Linked DNA regions of Homo sapiens: region 2 is linked to region 1. Evidence: promoter capture Hi-C in 16 types of primary human blood cells and fetal thymus (Javierre and others, 2016). All regions are on one chromosome and are shown on one strand. Each heading gives the region's core, a stretch centred on a gene start or on the middle of the fragment in contact. The rest is flanking DNA. Distances are from core to core; before and after follow the strand shown. Region 1 holds the start of GLCCI1 (glucocorticoid induced 1). Region 2 overlaps COL28A1 (collagen type XXVIII alpha 1 chain).

Region 1 (5,519 bases), core at 2,832-5,331:
GTATTTGGCAATTTACGTATTTCTATTATGGTAACCATTTAAATTATTTAAAACTATACTACAAAAATAAAGGAAATTATCATTTTTTCCTGGGTTGTATAAATTAATATTATAATAATATTAAAATTGACTATTCCTATTTATAGAATTCAGCTTTTCCTCAGCCTTGTGAAACAATCTGAATATCAATTCTCTATTACTCTAGCCTTAGCCCTACAAATATTCACATTAAGAATGCTTAAGACGCAGATAATGATATAATTTATTTAGAAATTGAGTGGTTTCATAATTTTTTGGTAAAAGAATCATAAAAACATTTTTAAGCTTCCATATTTTCTCCTATAATCATCACTCCAGATGAAATGCATGAAACACTGAATGCTCAGTTATGTCACCTTTAGTCGAAATGCCCATAGCCCTTGCAGCTTTTCATAAACAATATGCCTTTATACTATATACCTACCCCTTGAGCCATCAACTACTTAATGCTTTCAAGTGTAGTTTCAAACGCAGTTTTAACACCCTCTTGCGCGCACACACACACACACACACATACACTGAAGTGTGCAGAAAAAGGAGGAGGTGGAGAGCAGAGGAAGAAATGGAGCACGTTGTTGTTTTTCATTCATGCAGTATAGTGATGTCAGTGTCTGCAGCAGCAGTGGCAGCGGCAGGAACCTTGACCAGTGGAGGCTAAAATCCACTCAAGTCAGAACCTTACAGCATTCAAAAGAAATTGAGAAGATAATCATTCGAAAAATTAAATCAACTGTTCAGATCATGGATTTTAAATGGCTAAGGAAACAGAACAGTTTAGTAGGACAGTTTTAATTTGGGTAGTGGGGGTAAAAGGCGGGACATGGAGAAGTAACATAGGAGTAATATAATCACGGAACTGGGGGCACAGAAGCCCGCATTCAAAAATCACTGCAATGTAAGAAACTGACAAAACCACCTGGTGTTTAAAACAGCAGAAAAACATCTTTAGCAAAGAAAGCCCTTGCATTCCCAACACAAGCTCTCTGACACTGCAAATCTGTCTGCTGCACAACCAGACTCAGAAAAGTGTTTTCATCATGATTGCATTAAAATCGCATTAAACTCGTATGTGCCACACTACAACAAAGAGAATAGTTTAAGCCAGATCACAAATTTTATTAAAACTGCTTGATGATGGAGCATGTAATTCCTAGGCCATTAAGCCTTTTGAAGGATGCAGAAAAACAAGTTGTACTATTATCCGTTGTAAGATGTTAGTGTTTATATACAAAAGGGGAGGAGGTACTAGATGGCCATTATGTTGTTGCAGCAATTGCCGAAACTTCTCTTACTCACACCCACCAGACCCTCTGTACACAATCTGCAATGCTTATTTTATGCCTCTTAGTCCCTACAAGAAAATCCCAAAACTCAATTTGTGCACTGTTGAAGCGAAATCACTAAAAAATTTATGTAACTGTTTTCTGTTCGTTCTGTTACTTCTCATTTCATACAGTTCTAGAAAATGTGCAAAGGAGTTGCATATGGCATTAATCTGTTAGAAAATGGTGGCCTTTTCTATAAAATACAGCCAAAGATGTGTGTTCAGTTGTGGTCATTATTAGGGCGATCACGTTGTTTTCATTCATTCATTCAGGATTTGCTGGAGGATGTCAGTTTCTGCAGCAGCTGGCTTGACCTGGGGGAGGAGTGCAGGAGCATATTCCTCCCAATGCATACAGATTACAGGATGTATTTCTTGCTGCTCATGTACTCATCCCACTGCACTACATCCTACACTGGTTCACCATCAAGTGGTCAGAAAACAAGTGCGTTAGCAACATGCTAATTACGGGTCTGAAATATTAAAACAAAAACACCAAGACTGCAATGTATCATAATGCAGACAACCACTTTCTCCAACTCTAACACCTTCATCAAGAAAGCTCCATTAAAAAAAAAAATTCCACATACCACATAAACAATGTACAGACTTTGACAGTGTTTCCCTTCCAAGCAGAGATTTTTCCACCCAGTATGATCTGTTCCCTCCACAATGCAGCAGCAGCATCTGTAGCTCTAGTTCGGTATCTAACAATATTAGCTATTCCACTCTCCCTTATGAGCTTTAAGTCCCTGTTTTGGCTAATCTTCCTTTTCTCCCCCAGGGCTCAACTAAATCATGCACTGTGTCCCTAGACATAAACAAAACCAAAGCAAAACAGAAAACACTAAGGGAAACCCACAGCATCCACCAGCTCACCATTACCTTTGACACCTAACAAAAAAAGAAACTTGAGATCCTTGAACAGCTCAACTGAACTGTTAAGTGTACTTAAAAATGGAAGGAAAAAAACGAACACGTTCCACAAATAAGTTTTCAGAAATTTACCATGAAAATCTCCGGTAGAGCACAAACTGTTTCCAGTGCAGGAGTGCTCTGATGCATGAATATATAAAGGGGAGGGGGAGAAAGAGAGGGAGAGAGAGAGGCGGGGTGGCGGGGGGCTGGGGGAGAGGGAGAGAGGGAGGACTGAGGGAAAAAACCGTATACACTTCAATTGTACATTCAAAACTGTCCCCTCTAGCAGATATCATTACATCCAGCCGATATCCTTACATCGAAACTAATGCCACCAACCCTCTAAAAAATAAAATACTATCCCGGTAGTTACAGGCACGTTAGGAACTTTGCAGAAAAGCACAAAGAGACGGTAGAGATTACAACCGCCACCTTATCCGCTGCTGAAGAGTTTGTGTGCGTGTTAAGTGTTTCGCCCAGCTTCTCCTTCCCCGGCTACAAACGGCAAACACACGAATGAGCTAGCCAGCTCTTAAACTGAAAAACCTCTCGAAGCAGGCGAGTGATGGAAGAGAGACTCTGAGGGGCGGCATGAGGGTCAAATAAAAGTCGCTTTTCAGTTCGCTCCTCCAAGCCCCACAGCGACCGCAGGGGGGTGAGATTCCCAAAGCCACTTTCACACCTTCGATAATGCACTAGCAAAGAGAAGCCCGAAGAGGCTGAAGTTTCCACGGAGGGCACCGTCGGGGAGACGCAGCCCGGGAGGACGGGAGGGTTGGGCTCGCTACCTCTGCACACGGGCGAGCCGGGGCTCCGTCTCTCAGGTGAGCTGCTCCTCCGGTGGCTCTCTGGGGACCGTCTCGGGCGGCCCTTGGCCCGCGGCGCCTGCTCGGCCGGGGCTGCGGCCGCCGGCGGCGTCGGGCTGGACGGGCTGGGGCCGCGGGCCGCGCCGGGCCCCGGGAGGCTGCCCAGCGAGGCGGCGGCAGCGGCGACGGGCGGACGCGTGGGACTGTGCTGGCTGCCCCGCAAGAGCTGGTAGGGCACCGTGGCGCGGATGGGCTGCAGCAGCCGGCCGGCTCCCGCAGCCGGGGCGCAGCCCACGCCGCCGCCGCCGCCCGCACCGTTCCCGCTCCCGGCGGCGGCGACGGCGGGCGGGGACCCCGCGGCGCTGCGCCTCATCCTCTGCGACGGGGGATGAGGGGTCTGAGAGGAACTGGAGGAGGAGGAGGAGGAGGCAGTGGACATGGTGGCTCTGCGGGCCCTGGACGCCGCCGGCCGACACGGAGGCGCGGGGCGGGAGGCGCGCGAGCGTGTGGGAGCCGGCGCGATAGTGCGTGCGAGTGTGTAAGGGGGAGGGGCGGGGGTATCGCTGTGGGGGAGGAGTCTCGGGGCTCCCCCTCCCCAACGCACACCCCCGCCGCCTCGGCGAGGGGGGAGGGGAAGGCTGCGAAAACAAACGTCCAACGGCCGCAACCGCCCGGCTGGGCTCGGTGTGGCGGTCACGGCCGGGGCCGCAAGGAGCCCGGAGCCGCCGCCGCCACCGCTCCAGGCATCGTGCTGACAGGGCAACGGCCCGGATCACGCAGCCCCGAGGGCCGCTCGCAGCCTTCTCCTCAGCCCTCGCAGGGCTGCACGCACGGGAGAACCCGGCAGCTGCAAGGAGGGCCGGGACCCCTGCTTCTGGGGACCAGGGTAGAGAGAAAGGGCCTCGAGGTGCTGGCGCTCCTCGGAGTCCGCGCCACCGCAAACGCCGCCGCCGCCGCCGCCGCTTCTACCCACTCCTCACTCCGAATGGCAACTAATTCGCCCCAGCCGCACCCCGCCCCCGGCACCGCCTCCCAGCGCCCAGGACCCGGCAGCTGCCGCAGCGAGCATTTCCATTGGCTTAGGCGCTCCCCACTAGAACTCGAGTGATTGGTTCTGGAATAGGAGTGAGAGAAGCAGTGTCCAATGACAATGGTGCCTCCTACTTTGAAGGCGGGGCGTGAGGGGTGGCAGCGTGAGGTGGGGGCTGTGCGCGCAGGGAGGAGCGTAAAAGTTGACAGCCTTGAGGTAAGTGCGAGACTAGGAAAGTGGGACTGTGTGTGTCCTGCGCGTGTCCCGACACCCCCAGACACGCAAACGCCCCGCTAGGCAGGTTGCAGGGGCTCCACCCTCCTGGGCCGTCTGTATGACTTGAGACACAGGACACATGAGGCAAACTTTAATTTGCAAGTACACCTGCATCCGGTGGGATGTTTTAGTTAGAACCAGAAGACTGGATCTCTTTTAGTAAGCTGAGTTTTCGTGACCAGTAGCCTTATTAATCAAAAGAACTTCTGGTGATCAGGAGAAATGTCTGGAACCTGCACTGAACAAAGTAAAATACTCTTACAGCCTAACATTTGTAGTTATGCAGTGAAAAGAGATTATCAAGTTCTATGTTCCAAGACAATAACACTGAATAGCAGGGGTCAACAAGGAATTTTATGTCATTACACCATCAGTTAGATATATTAATGAAGGGCGCCCCTGGCTTTTCCGAAGCAGATAGCTTCTTGGGAGGAATAAATACCAGATGTAATGTAATAATCCATTGTGGTAAATTTGTTTTTTATTCTGTAATGAAACTGAAAGCGTACAAAGATTTTGGATGACTATCAAAAACATAAATTTACCCCACAGTAAACCAAGGTTTTAAACCTTAATCGGGAGCAATTAATGTAAGGATCTTCATCAGATAACTTTCATTAATTTTCAAGAGGTTAAAAGAGAAGCACAATGTCAAATTGGTCTGCTCGTGGTGTCTGCCCACACTGACAAGCTTCCTCTGATTTCAGGCACTATATGCAGGGGTCACTTTCACGTACAGGAGCCATCCTTCTTTTCTTCCTTGTGTGTTCAGACGAGAAAGCATACTAGGTTCAGTAAAAAAATTGATGAAACTCAATAAAAATACAAAAATTTCATGCAGTACTTCATCCAAGTAAAACTAGTGATAGTTCCTCAGTTTACCACATATTATAATAAGAGCTAACATTTATTCACCATGTGCCAGCCGCTATTCTAAGAACATTATGTGTGTTAATTCATTCAGTCCTCATATAATCCACAAGGTAGATACTATTATTATCCTTACTGTGGTCTCAGTTGTGGCATAAATAAGCTGTCTTGCCTGAGATCACATAGTTAGTATATGGGGAGCTAAAAATTTCACCCAGACAGACTGGCTCAAGAGTCTGAGGAAGCACTCTGCTAT
Region 2 (5,428 bases), core at 1,472-3,971, 550 kb after region 1:
AATGTTAATAGTGCTGAGTTTGAGAAACCTAGTTTTAATTGTTCATTCAGTTGCTCAACAACTTTCTTTGATTTGTTCGAAAGTAGGGTAAAGAAGTAGCAAGCATGTTCAATAGGGAAAATAGATGTCAATGAACCACCCACCACAAATTCAAATTTTGAATTGGTATATTCATGCCGAAAATGCACAGAAGTGAATTAGAGCCCATTCTCAGAGAGGAGAGGGAAAAGGCTGTATGAGTCAAAGATTTTACTGAGCATCCCAGAATTACCAAGATTCTCAGTTTATCTCTGTTTTGTCCCTCAACTCAATTTTGGCGGTATGCTATTTTTGAACCTTCTAGATCACTTTAAATGGATGAAGATCCCCCCAAGATGTTAGTAGTCATTATCACTGGGTGATGGGAAGATGGGTCTATTTTTCTTGTTCATGTCATCTTTATTTCTGTTTAATTTTTTTTTTTGCAATGGGCAGGTATTCCTCTTATAATCAGAAAAAGTCAAGCTTTTTTAATACTGGAAAGTAAAAGACTGACTTATACAATAACTTATATTAACCCAGCACTTCTGAAGGCTTCTTCCATCCAGTGTTAATTTAGGAACTTCTGGGATAAGCAACGTTACACTAATTTCTTTACTGTGGGACTTGTTAGAGCCATTAGTCTACTATATTAGTGTGCACTGGAGATCTCCAAGGGAAAGCGCATGCTATTTTCCAATCTTATTCCACCACGAAGTGTTTCCAAAGAAACATGGGCTCAGTTTATGAACAGATACTGGGAAATGCTACACTTGCTTATAGCTTCATCTACACATTTTCCTAAAAATTTGGACATTGATATCCACTGGATCTTTAAGTGCAACCCCAGTGAAATCACACCTTATATTGAAATGGAGCAACATCTTAAGGCTATGTGGAGCCACATGTCAGTGGTTTTCATATGTGGTGCAGGGCAGCCCTGGTGTTCTTGAGCTTGGTGGTAGGGCAGTGAAGGGGGCCCAAGCAGATGAGGCCCTGGGCCTCCATTTCTGCTTAGGCCCAGCGGCTCTGCTTACTGCTTAATTTTTATTTGGATTATATTTAAGGTTTTGTTTGCATAGAATTCTGTGGTTTAAAAATATTGGGGAAGCACTCTAAGTAAAATAGGAAGTAGCTTATAGGCAGCATGAAAGTCCTGGTCAGACTGAAGTAAGAATGCAGCTGAGAGTAGTAATACTTAACGTTGTTTCTTCTTCGATCTTCTTACATTTTGTCTTCAAATTCTCCCCATCTTCTAACAGGGTGATACTGGGCAGAAAGGCTTGCCTGGCCCTCCTGGCCCCCCTGGCTATGGATCACAGGGAATTAAAGTAAGTGAATAGGGTTGTGCTGGAGTCACCTCTGATTTCACCAGAGTGATTGGGAGAAGAGGTTGTAGATAACGCAAAAATGGCTATTATGAAATAGATTTATTGTGAGCCTCGCAGTTAAATGGCATCCAGTGTTTAGAGACATCATCTGGAAGTGTAAAAATGGTATGAGTACAATACTTCAGCAAATGCTAAACATTATATAAATTGCTTGGTGCAAAAGTGAACTGTTCTATGGTTTGTTGCTTTCCCCTCTTTGTGAATTGAATGGAGAATTTATACTCAGTTGCTCTCTCTCTCTCTCTCTCTCCCCCCCCCCTCCCTCCCTCCCTCCCCCCTCCCTCCTTCCCTCCCCCTCCCTCCTTCCCTTACCTTCCTCACCTGTATCCTCCATGGTAGCCCAGGGCTTCCCAATCTTAGCTCACAGTGGAATCACCTAGGGAGCTTTTGGATAGTACTAATGCCCTTTCCCAGAGGAACGAAATCCGAATCTCTGGGAGTAGAGTGTGAGTGCTGTGGTTTTCAAAGCTCTCCAAGGGATTCTCCTGAGCAGCCAAGGTGAGAACCTCTATTCTAGGCCCTGAGTCTGTGTTACTGGAATTCATAGCCATCTGCATGTCACTTTGCTTCTGCGTCAGCAGCAACAAGCTTGTCCAGCATGCTGGGACTCTCAGGGTCTCTCATGTCTCAGTAGACAAATTTGGCATCTAAACATTACTATGTAATTCTAAAAAATTCCCTCTTCTGCTTCTAATATGTTGATGATGTTGTTCTTATCGGTTCACTCTCTTTTTTTCCGATTCCACTGCTGCCCCCGTCATAAGCTGGTTTTTTATTTTACATACATTTATATATATATATATTTTTACCATGCTTAAGCTTTGAAACTGAGTTATTCACCTCTGGATGATTGAGATTGATTCTAAAACTGTGGGAACATTCAAAATAAACTCCTTTTCAAATAGCAGAACTTCTTAGTCAGTAGGAGACAGTAGGAGCTTAAGATAATGTGAAAATCCTGTGTTGAAATTAAACTGCCTACTTCTGTGTAGAGAGAGTAAGCTTAGTCAAGAGCAGAACTCATAGAATGTGTGTTAAATCTCCAGTTTTATCACACAATGTCTAGAGCTTCTACAGCAGGTCTTCTAAATAACTGTTGTTCATCTCTCGGGCTGAGTATCTAAGCAAAGGCCAAATAGGCATGTTGCCCATATTGTACAAGCCCTGGAAAGAAAATACAGCAACACTCTGCTTTCTCATAAACAACACCAATCTCATACTTAATCTTTAAATTCTGTGGTTAGAAGGTGGTAGTGCTGTATACCCAGTTTTGCATGAGTTTGCTTAGGGAATAAACCTATGCCAAACCACAGGTCCTGTCACCAACATGAGCTCAGTTCACACATGCTGTTAGGTTATTGCTGCCACGTCTTTAGGCCTGGGGCCGGTTTTCTCCACTTTGTTATCTGGGAACTACTTCCTCATTCTCACCTGGGTTGTGTTTAATTAATCCTTACCGACTATAACTTATCTGGCTTCCTGCCTCTCCTTATGCCCTCAGGGTTATGCTGTGTCTAAACTCCATCCTGGGTGAAACCAGGTCCTGAAGCCTCCCATCACAGGAAAGCACCAAAATCAAAACTGCCACGTATCCCATCTTATCAGAAATGAGATAAGCTTTTCCTTCACTTAGGGCTGTAGCCTGATGCTGCTTAGCAGTGAGCCCTGACTAAGGCTCACTCATAAAACTTCTCTAGGCCGGGTGCAGTGGCTCATGCCTGTAATCTCAGCACTGTGGGAGGCCAAGGCAGGCAGATCACTTGAGGTCAGGAGTTCAAGACCAGCCTGGGCAACATGGTGAAACCCCGTGTCTACTAAAAATACAAAACTTAGCTTGGTGTGGTGGTGCATGTCTGTAGTCCCAACTACTCAGGAGGCTGAGGCATGAGAATCGCTTGAACCCAGGAGGCAGAGGCTGCAGTAAGCTGAGATAGTGCCACTGTACTCCAGCCTGGATGACAGAGTGAGACCTTGTCTTCCCAAAAAAAGAAAACTACCCAGCACTTTGGGAGGCCGAGGTGGGTGGATCATGAGGTCAGGAGTTTGAGACCAGCCTCACCAATATGGTGAAACCCCATCTCTACTAAAAATACAAAAATTAGCCAGGCATGGTGGTGCGTACCTGTAATCTCAGCTACTCAGGAGGCTGAGGCAGGAGAATCGCTTGAATCCTGGAGGCGGAGGTTGCAGTGAGCCAAGATCGCACCACTGCACTCCTGCCTGGGCAACAGAGTTAGACTCTGTCTCAAAAAACAAACAAAACAACCAGAAAAACCTCTTTAGACATATTGGATTGCCTGGCATCCAGTTGGTAGCAGGGCAGAGGTTCGTCCCTCAGGACTTCCATCTCATTTTCCTGACTGTGGCAAAAACCGCAATTACTTTTGCACCGACGAAATACCATCACTGCAAAAGGGAGGGAACTGAAAAACCAAATTGGTGGCATTCTTCTGAGTCATTTCAAGGATATAGGAACAGTAAAATTTCATTTCTTACATTCATTTGTTGACTTATTTCCTACCCCTTTCCAAAGAGCATTTGAATCAGTGAAATCTGCTTGCAGGTGTGTGTGCTTAGTAGCCTTTGACGGAAAGCTTTGTTGCTGTTAACCTTTAACACAGAAGCCTGAACTGTACTCTGTCTCTCTATCCCCTTCCACTTATGGGAGAAATAAGGGTTGTAGCTGCAATCACAAGTGATTTGCTTCAACCTAACTTAGTTGCTAGAATATTGGCTCTTCAGCCAGTCATTCATTCATTCAGCTGACCAACCAATACGGATTGAGCATCACCTATGTCAGGCAAATAAGCCAAGTGCTAGTATAAAGTAGTGAGTAAAAATATGTGAACTTAGTCCTCATGGAATTTACAGGCTATAAAATAATTAAACTTTGAGTTCTGGAGAGTATAGAGGATGGCACAATGGAGTGAATTTAGATTACAGCAGTAGGCAGGGCCCTTGTGAGGTCCTATAGGCCAAGTAATGAGTTTGGCCTTAATCCTAGGAGCAACTGGAAGTCAGAGAAGAATGATCTGATCAGTTTGGAAGAGACTCACTCTGGCTACCATTTGTAGAATGAATGGACATGACTGGAAGGAATGTGGGAGTAGAAGGGCTTCTCTTTCCATGCCCCTTCCTATTCTCTTGATTCTCTATGTGGAAGAGTATGATCTTCTGGGAACTTCTTTCCCCGGCCTTTCCTGGGGCTCTGGGACCACCCAGGGCTGCTGCTGTGGTAGCTCTGGTCCTGGAAAACCCTGAGAGCACGATGGGCTCGCCCCTCTTTATTTAGTACCATGGCAGCCTCCTGCCATTCCTCTGCTGGCCCAACTGGCTCTGCCCTGAAGTGGAACTCCAGCTCCTTCAGGGCCTTGGGCTTTTTCCCAACCACAGATGTCTGTTGTTTGGATCAATGAATATGGGACTGTGGCTGTTTGATCCTAAAATGGCCTTGGACTTTCAGGTTCATGTCACAGGCCAGGAAGTTATATGATGCTGCCATCTTGTCCCACTGTAAGCCTCCAGCAGTAACCCAGATATAGACTCCAGATATATCAGAAGTCCCACAGATTAAGTCAGAAGGGAGAAGGAATGGGTCTGGACCTGGAGGAATTCCTTTATATGCCAAGTAGCCATTGTGAGGCCAGGAGGGATGTGATCAGAGGGTGCACCACCCAGGTTAAAAAGCACGGAGACAGATGTGGATGGCTTCTCCCCATTCTTCATTTCTAATTGGGAGTTATGCCAGTTTCCCCATCTCCATCCTTGTTTAAGTCCGTTCCAGTGTCCTGATCAGCCCTGACATTCCCTTAGTACTTATTTTCAGAGGACCCAGAAGTCCTTATATAAACACAATTCCTGGTAGCCCTCCTTGACTTTAAAGACTTTGTGAGGTAGATTTGTGGACTGGCTCTACTATAACTCTTCCTATGCATAAATGCTTTATTCATTGAGAGAATTAGCTTCTATGCCACTGCCTTTTGCTCTTCCTGTAGGCTTGAATATGACTGACCCACCCA

The links. Contacts are between HindIII fragments. The CHiCAGO score rates a contact against its expected background, and 5 or more counts as called.
Region 2: a contact is called between a fragment that was not itself captured here and the fragment with the promoter of GLCCI1 in region 1, in 1 of 17 cell types (erythroblasts). The highest score is 5.4, in erythroblasts.

The regions. Positions count from the first base shown.
Region 1 is chr7:7,967,358-7,972,876 of GRCh38, reverse strand. It overlaps GLCCI1 (glucocorticoid induced 1), which reads right to left and starts at 4,081. Exons shown (of 8, transcript NM_138426.4): 1 at 3,070-4,081. The coding sequence starts at 3,526. It overlaps GLCCI1-DT (GLCCI1 divergent transcript), which reads left to right and starts at 4,125. Exons shown (of 5, transcript NR_110018.1): 1 at 4,125-4,333. RefSeq lists an enhancer at 2,619-2,708 and silencers at 3,189-3,268, 3,359-3,418, 3,499-3,898, 4,109-4,258. The HindIII fragment of the contact is 4,760 bases long and covers 327-5,086 here.
Region 2 is chr7:7,413,780-7,419,207 of GRCh38, reverse strand. It overlaps COL28A1 (collagen type XXVIII alpha 1 chain), which reads left to right. Exons shown (of 35, transcript NM_001037763.3): 27 at 1,281-1,349. Among named protein-coding and RNA genes, the nearest start is that of COL28A1, 120 kb to the left of the region's middle. The HindIII fragment of the contact is 615 bases long and covers 2,414-3,028 here.